Regions from separate parts of the Homo sapiens genome. Here regions 1, 2 and 4 are each linked to region 3. Evidence: promoter capture Hi-C in human tissues and cell types (Jung and others, 2019). All regions are on one chromosome and are shown on one strand. The core of a region is centred on a gene start or on the middle of the fragment in contact, and the rest is flanking DNA. Distances in the headings are between cores, read along the strand shown. Region 1 overlaps DLEU1 (deleted in lymphocytic leukemia 1). Region 2 overlaps DLEU1 (deleted in lymphocytic leukemia 1). Region 3 holds the start of RNASEH2B (ribonuclease H2 subunit B). Region 4 overlaps DLEU1 (deleted in lymphocytic leukemia 1).

Region 1 (2,700 bases), core at 7-2,506, 600 kb after region 3:
AATTGCATTTCTTACACATCACTGAAAATATTATGGCAAATGTCAGCAAAAAGATTGCAGAATGAAGCTTAGTTCACTCCCAGCTGTCTCTCAGCAGACGTATCCTGCTTCTCAGAAAGCAGAGCTTTGTATATTCATCCAGTTAGAGTCCATCTCTCTAGATGATGAACTGTCATTGCCTCAAATTCCTTGATGATTTTAGCTTAAGCAACTTTCTTTAGCAACTTTTGCTGCCATGATTATCTTCCTCACATGGCTGTCCTCCTTCTGTCAGAGAACAGGGAAAAAACACCATGCTAGCTGGCTAGTATCTTGCCTTCCTCTGCTCTGGTTCCTGCCAAGTTTTCTTTATGCCTTTCATGCCCTAAAGCCTTTGCTGAATCCCCCAAGAACCGATAAATCAAGATTTCTGTCAGGGTTGTTTATACTGCATTACTATCTAAGCCCTTTTCTATACAAATCAAAATGAAACTACACCACTGTTTTAATTTCAAAATTAAATTAAAATATTTCCCATGAAAGGCTGATGGCAGATACTTCAGGTGAAAATCCAACACTAAGAACCATCTATAACCAATTCATTTAACTTGATTGATGCAAGAGTTTGCCATTGTTTTCCCATCTTGGTGATAAAAAGATGTTTCATACCTTCATCATATGGGTTGGTTGAAAATCTCAGAAATTCTTTGATTATGACAGTAAAAATTATAGTAATAAGATAAATAATGGTTTATAATTAAAATTTCAAGAGCAGTAAAGATGGTGACTATCAAAGAGTTAAAAGTTAATAATGTAATTTAATAACCTCTGTACCCGGTGAAACATCGAAACGGTCTATAGTAACTAGGATTTTGTGTATTTTGAACCTATTTTTTATTTTTATTTTAATTATTTCTAATTTTGTACTCCTTGAAATAAAAAACCTGTTAATTCAAGAATAAGTTAAGCAAAATTTGTTATATACTAGCAAGTAACTACTTGCATAGTTGCAAAGCTCTACTTATTTTTTTTTTCTGTTTGCAAATTCAAACTCCCATAGTTCTTGGGCACTAATTATACCCTCAACTTACTCAGCTTTTGGTGGAGTTGGGCATAGTTAACCCTTCATTCCTTTTTGAAGCATGTTTCTCTGTTGGTTTCTCTGATCATACATTGTCCTGGGTTTCCTTCAACCCCATTAGCTGTTCCTCCTCAGCTTCCTGTACTGGCTTTACCTCATTTACCCACCTTGAATTGTTTGTGTTCCTCAGAACTCAGTCCTAAACTTTCTTTTTGCTACACTTTCCTTATTTAAATATGTCACTCCTGAGATTATAAAGACTATTTTCTTCTTGACTTCCAATGCTACATCTTTGGCCTACACTTCTTCCCTCTCTCAACTTCTGCACATGGATGTTTTAAAGGGCTTAAACTTTACATGGAAAATATAAAAGGAATTAAAATTCAACTATTCAAAGAATAAAGGATCTAGAATAAAATTGTGTTTTCCAGAATTTTATATGAATAGAATCAAACAGTATGTATCCTTTTGTGCCTGGCTTCTTTTATTCACCAAAATGATTTTGAGATTCATCCATGTTGTTATATGCATCCATAGTTCATTCCTTTGTATTGATGAGTAGTAGTCCATTGTATAAATCACTATTTATTTATACAGTCACCTGTTGATGGACCTTTGAGTTGTTTTCAATTTGGAACCGTTAAAAATAAAGCTGCTGTGAACATTCATGTACAGGTTTTGTAGGAACATATGCTTTCTTTTGGGTAAATGCCCAGGAGTGGAATGGCTGGGTCATGCTATAGGCATATGTTTAACATTTTCAGAAACTGCCAAGCTGTTTTCCAAATGGTACAACAAAAATGGTTGCACCATCTTAAAGTCCCATCAGCAAATTGTGGGAGTTCCAGTTGCTCCACAGCTTTGCCTTGCCAGCATTGGGTCTTTTTGATTTTTGCTATTCTAAGGGGTGATGTTGAACCATCTTTAAGTGCGTTGTTGCACCGTTTATATACCATTTTTTTGTGAAGTATCTGTTTAAACCTTTTAACCATTTTCTTGGAGTTGTAAGAGTTCTTTGTATATTCTGAATACAAGTCTTCTGTTTAATACATGAGCTAAGAATATTTTCTCCCAGTGTGTGGCTTGCATTTCTGTTCTCTTTATGGTGTCTTTCAAGGAACTAATGTTTTAATTCTGGTAAGTCTAAGTAATCAATTTTTTTCTTTACAATTAATGAATTTTGTGTTCTACCTAAGAAACCTTTGACTACCCAGGGTCATAAATCAAAACCACAATGAGATATCATCTCACACCAGTCAGAATACCTATTATTAAAAACTCAAAAAACAACAGATACTGGTGAGGTTGCAGAGAAAAAGGAATGGTTATATATTGTTGGTGGGAATGTAAATTAGTTCAACCATTGTGAAAAGCAGCTTGGAGATTTCTCAAAGAACTTAAAACAGCCTTACCATTCAACCCCGCGATCCCATTACTGGATCTATATCCAAAAGAAAATAAATCATTCTACCATAAAGATACACTCAATTGCATGTTCATCGCAACACTCTTCACAATAGCAAAGACATGGAATCAACCTAGATACCCGTCAACAGTGGATTGGATAAAGAAAACGTGGTACAGATACACCATGGAGTCCTATACAGCCATAAAAAAGAATGAAATCGTGTTCTTTGCAG
Region 2 (2,735 bases), core at 34-2,533, 520 kb after region 3:
TATTTTATTGATAAGTATCCCATTGTATAGCTATACCACCGTTTATTTATCCATTCATCTATTGATGGACACTGATGGACATATGGGTTGTTTCTAGTTTTTGACTATTAAAATAAAGCTTCTATGAATAATCATGTTCAGTCCTTGTATAGACCCATACTTTGATTGCTCTTCAGTAAATACCTGTAAAATGACTGGGTTATTTGCTATCTATATGTTTAGCTTTTAAAGAAACTAGCTATTTTCTAGAATGATTGTACCATTTTACACATCCATCAGCAGTACATGAGAGTTCCAGTTGCTTCCTGCCCTCGACTTGCTATGGTCAGTCTTTATTCTAACAGATGTGTAGTGCTATCTCAGTGTGGTTTTAATCTGCCCCTAAGGAATAATGATATTGAACATTTTTAATGCATTTATCTGCCATCCATATGTCCTTTATGGTAAAGTACCTGTTCTAATATTTTGCCCTATTTTACTGGTTTATTTGTTCTCTTATTACTATGTTAAGGGAATTCTTTATATATTCTGTATGCAAGTCTTATTAGATATGTGATTTGAAAATATTTTCTTCCAATAGGTGGATATTCTTCATTTTCTTAAGTTTCTTGCAAAGAATAGAGGTTCTTAATTTGAATGAAGTCCAATTTATATTTTTTTCTTTTATGGTTTATTCTTTTGGTATGGGATTTATAAACATTTTTCCTAATACCTTGTCACAAAGATGTTCTCTTCTGTTTCCTTCTAGAAATTTTATATTTTTAGATCTTGAAAGTAGGCCTATGATCTCTTTTGGATTTGGATATGTTGCAAGGTTTGAATCAAAGGAGTTTTCTGCTTTTTTTTTTTCCTGTTTTTATGAATGGATGATCAATTGTTAAGAAGACTATGCTTTCTCTGTTGAAGTGCCTTTAAACCTTTATAAAAGTCAATTCACCAGATACATGAGATGTATGTTTCCATTATATCTACTTATATATTGTCCATCTTGATACCATTACCACACTACCTTGATTACAATAGTTTTATGTCTCAAAATTAGGTAGTATGAGTCCCCCAACTTTGTTGTTTTTCAAAATTATCTTGGCTATTCTAAGTCCTTTGCATTTCTATATAAATTTTAGAATCATCTTATCAACTTCTACCAAAAAAAAAAAAAAAGATAAAAGAAAAAAAAAGCCTTCTGGGATTTTCACTGGGAATGCTTTGAATTTATACATCAATTTGGAGACAACTAACAATATTGATTCTTTCATTCCAAGAATTCAGAATATTGTTCCATTTATTTATATCTTCTTTAGTTTTTCTTAGCAATGTTAAGTAGTTTACAACAGGGATCCCCAGCCCCTGGGCCACGTGGACCAATACTGGTTCATGGCCTGTTAGGAACCAAGCCACACAGCAGGAGGTGAGCAGTGGGCGAGCAAGGGAAGCTTCATCATATTCACAGCTGCTCCCCACTGCTCACATTACTGCCTGAGCTCCGCCTCCTGTCAGATCAGCGGCGGCACTGGAGCCTCACAAGAACGCAAACCCTATTGTGAACTGCACATGGGAGGAATCTAGGTTGCATGCTCCTTATTAGAATCTAATGCCTGCCTGATGATCTGTCACTGTCTCCCATCAACCCCATATGGAGTCCCATATAAGCTTGTAGGAAAACAAGCTCAGGGCTTCCACTGATTCTACATTATGGTGAGTTGTAAAATTATTTCATTACATATTACAATGTAATAATAATAGAAATAAATTGCAAAATTAATATAATGTGCTTGAATCATCCTGAAACCATCCCCCGACCGCCCCTGGTCTGTGGAAGAATTGTCTTCCACAAAACCTGTCCTCGGTGCCAAAAACATTGGGGACTGCTGGTTTACAATATACAGATATTACGATTATTTTTAGCAACTTCTTTTATATCCATATTATTTCTCTATACAGATTATATCTAAAAGTAGCAGGTCACTAATACTTCTCCTGTGTCTTCACTGGGCCTCCATTTCCTCATCTGTGAAGACAGAATAAAAACAACTGCTGCCAAAGTTGGGCACAAAATTGCATGTGTAAGGCACCTAACATTTGTGCCTATTGCACAATGCTGCTGGTCTGATTACAGAGTTAATAAGTTTTGTTTAATAAAAGGATGAAGAGGGAAATAGAGGAGTCATAAGGGTGAGGCAACAAAGTGTGGGTTCAAAGCAAGAGGCATCCAATCTGATAAGATTGAGCCTAAAAACAAAACAAAACAAAACAAAACAAAACCCAATGACCACAACAGCACTAATTGCTCAGAAATTAACCCGAAGACTCAGATAGCCAAATGAGGTGGTGTGGTGGAAGCAGTTGTAATGCTCCTGGCTAGACAGAGAATACATAGTAAGAATCTGTTGTGTGCACATACATTAAGAAATTAACAGGTGATGTTCCAGTTATAGGAATGGGAGCAACCAACAGAAATTTAGCCAGGAAAGGAGCTTGAGTATGTAGCACTGAATACTCTCTGCATATCTGGGTAGACTGTAACCTTGTCCATGTCCAGATAAGAACTAAATAAAGCTGACTCGTGATGCTTCTTAACCTCTATTCATCTGCTGATATAAGGGAGTCCATAACCCACCAGGAAAGGGGGCTCCACCCACTCAGAGTGGGCACTGATAACAAAAAACCCAGCAAAATGCTAAATGCATAGCAATCTACAAGAAACTCTTAGCTGACCAACTGTGAAAACATTTATA
Region 3 (2,810 bases), core at 165-2,664:
GTCAGCATAGAGGTTCCTGGGGCTATCTAGGAACAGGCATGAGGCGTTATTGGAAACAGTCTACATCTTGAACTGGGGGATGGTTACTAGGGTGGTGTATACGTATGAAAAGTTCAGTGAGTTGCATACTTAAAATCCGTACACTTTATGTATGTTTTATTTTTAGAGGCAAAAAATATTATTGACAGCCTGTCATGTAAACATTTTCAATAACCATCATAAAACTCTAAATTCCTGGGAAAGAATATTGTTATCAGAGTATATTTACTGCCACAAACACTGCATTTGCTGAGCTAAAGTCAAAACTTAATACAGGGAACAGGAGATGTTCCTTTTTTCCAATGTTACATATATAAAAAGACCAAACCTTTCTGGCTTGCACTCCCTAGGCCAAATTCCTTTAACTGTGTCATTTAATCGGTCCTTCCTTGTGTGGCACTGGCTGTCCACTGTCCCAAGCCCTCGCATGTCCTGGATGGCCGGTCATCATCCACACGGGGGCTGAAAGGCCCGGCTCCAGCACTCCTGTGGTCATCATCCTGCTGAATCGCTTTGAACTACCCTTGGCCTAACCGCGACTCCCATCCCGCTTCCCTCCTGCCTCGCCACTGCAGGCCTGTCCCTTTGCTTTCTTAAAACTGCGCACCGTCTGAGGCCACTTCGAGCCTACTGGATCCCTGGTTCCAACCCAGTAGGATCACAGAAGCAGGGCCAGCTGCCAGGTAGGGGACACCAAGGGCAGAAACCTCCGGGGCCCGCAGCGCACCGGTGACCGCGAACCCGCGTGGCTCCCCTCAGGCTGAGTCGGCTTCCACCCTCCCACCCGAGCCACCGGGGATCAGGGCCCGGGAAACACGCTCGGTCCTTTTCGGCGCTTCCGGGTTTGAAAACCGCGGCTTGCTATGACGTGTGACCAAAATGCGGGGCCAGCTGTCCCAGAGAGAATCCCATCCCGCGCCGGGCCGGGTAGTGGGAGCCACCGGGGTGGGGGGCGGCGCGCCCGGGGTCGCGGGCCGCTCCGCCAGTTCTTGGGCCGACCCCGCCGCCCGGGCGCGCGTGTTTACCTGAAACCAGGAACACGTGCTGCCGGGCGCCAACCCCGTCCCCGCAGTCCACGCCAGCGGCCATGCCGCCCGCCTCTTCCGGGGCGCCGCAGGCTCAGCGCCGCGGGCCTCAGTCTCCCAGCCCCGCCGAAAATGGCGGGAGAAGGGTCTGTTCCGGGTGGCGCGGCGCGCTGAGGGACCGGCAGCGCCCGGGAGGAGGCCCAGGGACCGAATTTCGTTTCGTTTCCGAGACCAGCCTGCTGCTCGTGTTACGTTTTTAAATTTAGCGCCAGGCGAGGGGCTCTGAATGCCGGCCGGTGGCCGCAGGCAACGGGAAGGGGCCGCGGCCTCTCCCTCGCGGCTCCGCTAGTGGTAGGTGCTCATCGCGCGCCGCAGGGCGCCGAGTGACGCGGAGCGGGGCGGGGTCGCCGGGGCCCCGCGCTCTGTGGCTGCACCCAGCGGCCCTCCATGGTCTAGCCAGCGGGCTAGGATTGGGTCTGCGGGGTGTGTGCCCGGACAACGGGTGACGCCCGCCACACCCCCGGGGCCGGGGGACTCACCTGGAGCTAGTCCGTGTTAAGGACAATAGCAGTCACATCGGAATCCGAATGCAACTCTTAGCCATGGTCCTCAATTATTTGTGAATATATATTGGTCATCAGTTGCATTCTGTGTTGCTATTGATGTGAGAATATGTGTGCATTGTGAGCTACAAGGGATGTCCTCAATTTGGACTCCGTCCTCATCACTAAAAGAGGTGCACAGTTTTGGGCTCAGAATATGAATTTGTTGTTTTGGAGAACGCTGTATACTGAGTTAAAAACTTAGACATTTATTTAAAAAGTGATGTTTAAAAAGTTAGAGCCATGAAATTTGGGGATTTAAACTTTTAAAAATAACATTTTAATTGAAAAGTGTTGTTTGGTACATGGTTTTTAAGAAGAAAGTACATATTCCTTTCATACTTTAGAGAAAAGCACGGGCCAGGCGCAGTGGCTCAGGCCTGTAATCCCAGCACTTTGGGAGGCCGAGGCGGGCGGATCGCCTGAGGTCAGGAGCTGGAGACCAGCCTGACCAACAAGGTGAAACTCCGTCTCTACTGAAAATACAAAAATTAGCTGGGTGTGGTGGTGCACATCTGTAATCCCAGCTACTACGGAGGCTGAGGCACAAGAATCACTTGAACCCAGGAGATGGAGGTTGCAGTGAACCGAGATCCCACCACTGCACTCTGGCCTGGGCTACAGAGCTGGACTCTGTCAAAAAAAACAAAAACAAAAAAATCCACAAAAACCTATTTTTTTTTTTTTTAAAGAAAAGCATGATGTATCTCTTTTATCCCAGATCCCAGGGGTAACTGTTAACATTTCTTCTCTATTCTTGCAGAATTTTTCCATGCAAAAACAAGTTAATGTCTTATTTTTGCACAATTGAAAGAATAATATACATAACTCATGCACTTTGCTTTTCATGTTTAATCTTGAAGATAGTTAAATTTAGCAGCACTAAATTTATCTCGGCCCTCTGAAAAGGTTTTTAACTTCAAACCTGTTTCCCATGGGGTGAGACCAATACAGCTGCAGTTGATTGCAGGACACAGCTGGTGGAGAAGAGGCCTTTCTGGCTGAGGAAAGGCGCCTCTTGCCAGTTTTGGGGCAAGGAGCAGCAGATTGGTACTGCTCTGATCTTCCCTCTCCCCCAAAACGACTGTAGAAGATGCTGTGGTGTATAGCACAAATCCCCAGGCACACCATCGTCTTACTAACA
Region 4 (2,700 bases), core at 200-2,699, 560 kb after region 3:
CTATTCATAGCACCTACTCAAGAAAAGACAATAGAATTTAAAATGAAAATAATTCATAGTGCATTCAGTTTTAATATTATGGACTTTGGGTTCATCCAATATCCCTTCTTTAACCCTTCTCTTCTGACTCACCATATTTCACTCCCTTCCTAAAGTCATTCATGTCAACTGGTGTCAACCAAGTGGGATTCTTACATTTCACAAAAGTGAGAGGCATCCCAATGCTCTCTTTAATTTCTTTTTTTTTTTCTTTTTTTTTGAGACAGAGTCTTGCCCTGTCGGCCAGGCTGGGGTACAGTGGCATGATCTCAGCTCACTGCAACCTCTGTCTCCCAAGCTCAAACGATTTTCCTGCCTCAGCCTCCCGAGTAGCTGGGATTACAGGTGTGTGCCACCATGCCCGGCTAATTTTTGTATTTTTAGTAGAGATGGGGTTTCACCATGTTGGCCAGGCTGGTCTCAAACTCCTGACCTCAGGTAATCTGCCTACCTCAGCCTCCCAAAGTGCTGGGATTACAGGCGTGAGGCACCGTGCCCGGCCTCTTTAATTTCTAGCAAAAGCAAACTAAGCTGCCATTAGAATGTGCCTTGCAAATATCCAGCTACAGGGAAGGTAATTGACCAAGGTCTTCAGCTGCTGCACTCTGAGATCCACCATCACATTTGTACCACGTCCATACTGGCTGCTCCCAGCCACAGGCTGCTCCTAGCCAATGACTGGATGTGGTGGGCAAGCCTGTTCCTGGGACACAAGGGACTCCTCTGACAGCCAACTTTGGTTCACAGACTCCATAACAACCTTGCTGAAGCTTCCTTAGGCTGCACAATGGTCTAGGACACTTCCACCTAACCTTCCTTCCCTCTCTCCATTTGTGAGATAGACTTGTTCCATAGTCTAACAGCTCTTTCTGCTCCCTACCCATTTTCTCCCAGACAGGTATTTCCCCTAACAAAATCCTTGCACATTTAATCCCACCCTGATGTCTGTCTCTCAGACTAAGACAGCTTGCTTTTTCATTCTTGGCCTTTTTCAATAAAAATGGGAGGGCAGTGGTCTTAGTATGCCAATATAGGCTCCTTACATTCTGCTAGATTGGGTCGCAGTTTGGAGAAAACAGATTCAAATCAGTGTAGTAGAAAACAGATATCACATCTTCTTTCTTTCAAGGCACAGATTACCCTATATACTAGTGAACAGTCTCAAGCCTGTTTGAGGGGAAGGGGAAGAGTTGATGAGCAATACTAAAAATCATCTTATTAAAAATATAAGTAAGATAATTCAATGCCCTTTATGTAGTTATATGTGACAATGTGAACTAGGGCTTATTTCCTGAAATATTTTTACAATCTTTTGTTCCAAAACTGATATGAAAATTTTCTCTTACCAGGGGATGCATTGGGCTGAAATGTCATGGAATGCTTTTCTGGGACTCTCAGCTCCATCAAACCATAAATGAGATTGGTGGTGGGGAGAATCTTCTCTGGCCTATACACTTTCCATGGGAACCATCATGGCCATCCCATAGGCTTACTAGAAGAGCTGCTGTGACCTTTATTCCTGCTTAGCCCAATCTCAGCAGACCAGGGAATAACAAGAACCATTGATTCCCCTGAGCTGCGCCAATGTGGTTCCAGCTGTAACAGCACAAGCCCTGGAACACTGCTCATTTGATAAGAAAAGAAGGTACCACTTCCTTTCTTCTTCCTTCATCCCTACTAGTTTTAGAAAAATTAGGGACTGAGCCAGACCTTGCTAGTTGCCTGTCCATTCTCCTCTTTTCAAAAAATCTCAGCTTTGTGCAAAGTGACAATAGGTCCATCTAAAAATACTATATTTTCTAGTCTGCAAGCCAAGGAGAGAGGCCTCAGGAGAAACCAGCCCTTCTGACACCTTGATCTTGGACTTCTAGACTCCGGAACTGTGAGAAAATAAATTTCTGTTGGTTAAGCCATCTAGTCTGTGGTGTTTTGTTAAGGCACCCCTAGCAAGCTAATGCAAGACTCATATTCAGAAGATAGAGAGAGCTTTATAAAACAATATCAAAAAGACAGTCAATACAATGAGAACTGTACAAAAAAAATTACAGAAAGCACTTCACGAAAGAGGATATCCAAATAACCAATAAACATATGAAATGAAAAGTACCTCAACTTTAGGTGATTCATTAGTTATTAGGGAAATAAAAATTAAAAACATTATATGATACTATCACATACTCATTGGAATGGCCAAAATTGAAGGGATGGATAATACCAAGTGTTGCCAAGGATATGGAACAACTGAAATTTTGTACACTACTAGTGGAATGATAAATTGATAAAAAATACTCTGAGAAATTGTTTTGCAGGAGCATAGCTAAATATAAACACAATCTACAATCCAGGGATTCTTCATATAGGTATATATCCACAGAAATGTGAACATATGTTCACCAAAAGATGTGTACTAGAATAGTCATTGTAGCATAATTTATAATTACTAAAACCCGCAAGCTACCTGAATGCCCAACAATACCGGAATGGATTTTTTAAAATTTATATTTATACATTAGAATATAGCAGTGAGAATAAATGTTCTACAATTCTATGAAATAATATGGGTGATTCTCACGAACATTATGTTAAACAAAAGAAGTCAGACACAAAAGAGTATCTGCTATATGACTCCATAAAGTTCAAAATCAGGCAAAATTAATCTAT

What was found. The method cuts DNA at HindIII sites, captures the fragments that hold promoters and counts their contacts. A contact is called where the count stands out against the background at its distance.
Region 1: a contact is called between a fragment that was not itself captured here and the fragment with the promoter of RNASEH2B in region 3, in 2 of the 25 tissues and cell types used here (spleen and stomach).
Region 2: a fragment that was not itself captured here is called in contact with the fragment with the promoter of RNASEH2B in region 3 in 4 of the 25 tissues and cell types used here (heart right ventricle, mesenchymal stem cells, pancreas and 1 more).
Region 4: a fragment that was not itself captured here is called in contact with the fragment with the promoter of RNASEH2B in region 3 in 1 of the 25 tissues and cell types used here (lymphoblastoid cells).

What each region holds. Positions count from the first base shown.
Region 1 is chr13:50,307,088-50,309,787 of GRCh38, reverse strand. The region is part of intron 2 of DLEU1 (deleted in lymphocytic leukemia 1); the gene reads right to left. Among named protein-coding and RNA genes, the nearest start is that of DLEU2, 180 kb to the right of the region's middle. The HindIII fragment of the contact is 5,964 bases long and covers 1-2,700 here.
Region 2 is chr13:50,392,550-50,395,284 of GRCh38, reverse strand. All of the region lies in intron 3 of DLEU1 (deleted in lymphocytic leukemia 1), which reads right to left. Among named protein-coding and RNA genes, the nearest start is that of DLEU1-AS1, 130 kb to the left of the region's middle. The HindIII fragment of the contact is 4,618 bases long and covers 1-2,735 here.
Region 3 is chr13:50,908,395-50,911,204 of GRCh38, reverse strand. It overlaps RNASEH2B (ribonuclease H2 subunit B), which reads right to left and starts at 1,414. Exons shown (of 11, transcript NM_024570.4): 1 at 1,065-1,414. The coding sequence starts at 1,128. It overlaps RNASEH2B-AS1 (RNASEH2B antisense RNA 1), which reads left to right and starts at 493. Exons shown (of 3, transcript NR_046552.1): 1 at 493-722. RefSeq lists silencers at 660-709, 920-1,159, 1,170-1,599. The HindIII fragment of the contact is 12,674 bases long and covers 1-2,810 here.
Region 4 is chr13:50,350,101-50,352,800 of GRCh38, reverse strand. All of the region lies in intron 2 of DLEU1 (deleted in lymphocytic leukemia 1), which reads right to left. Among named protein-coding and RNA genes, the nearest start is that of DLEU1-AS1, 180 kb to the left of the region's middle. The HindIII fragment of the contact is 4,953 bases long and covers 1-2,700 here.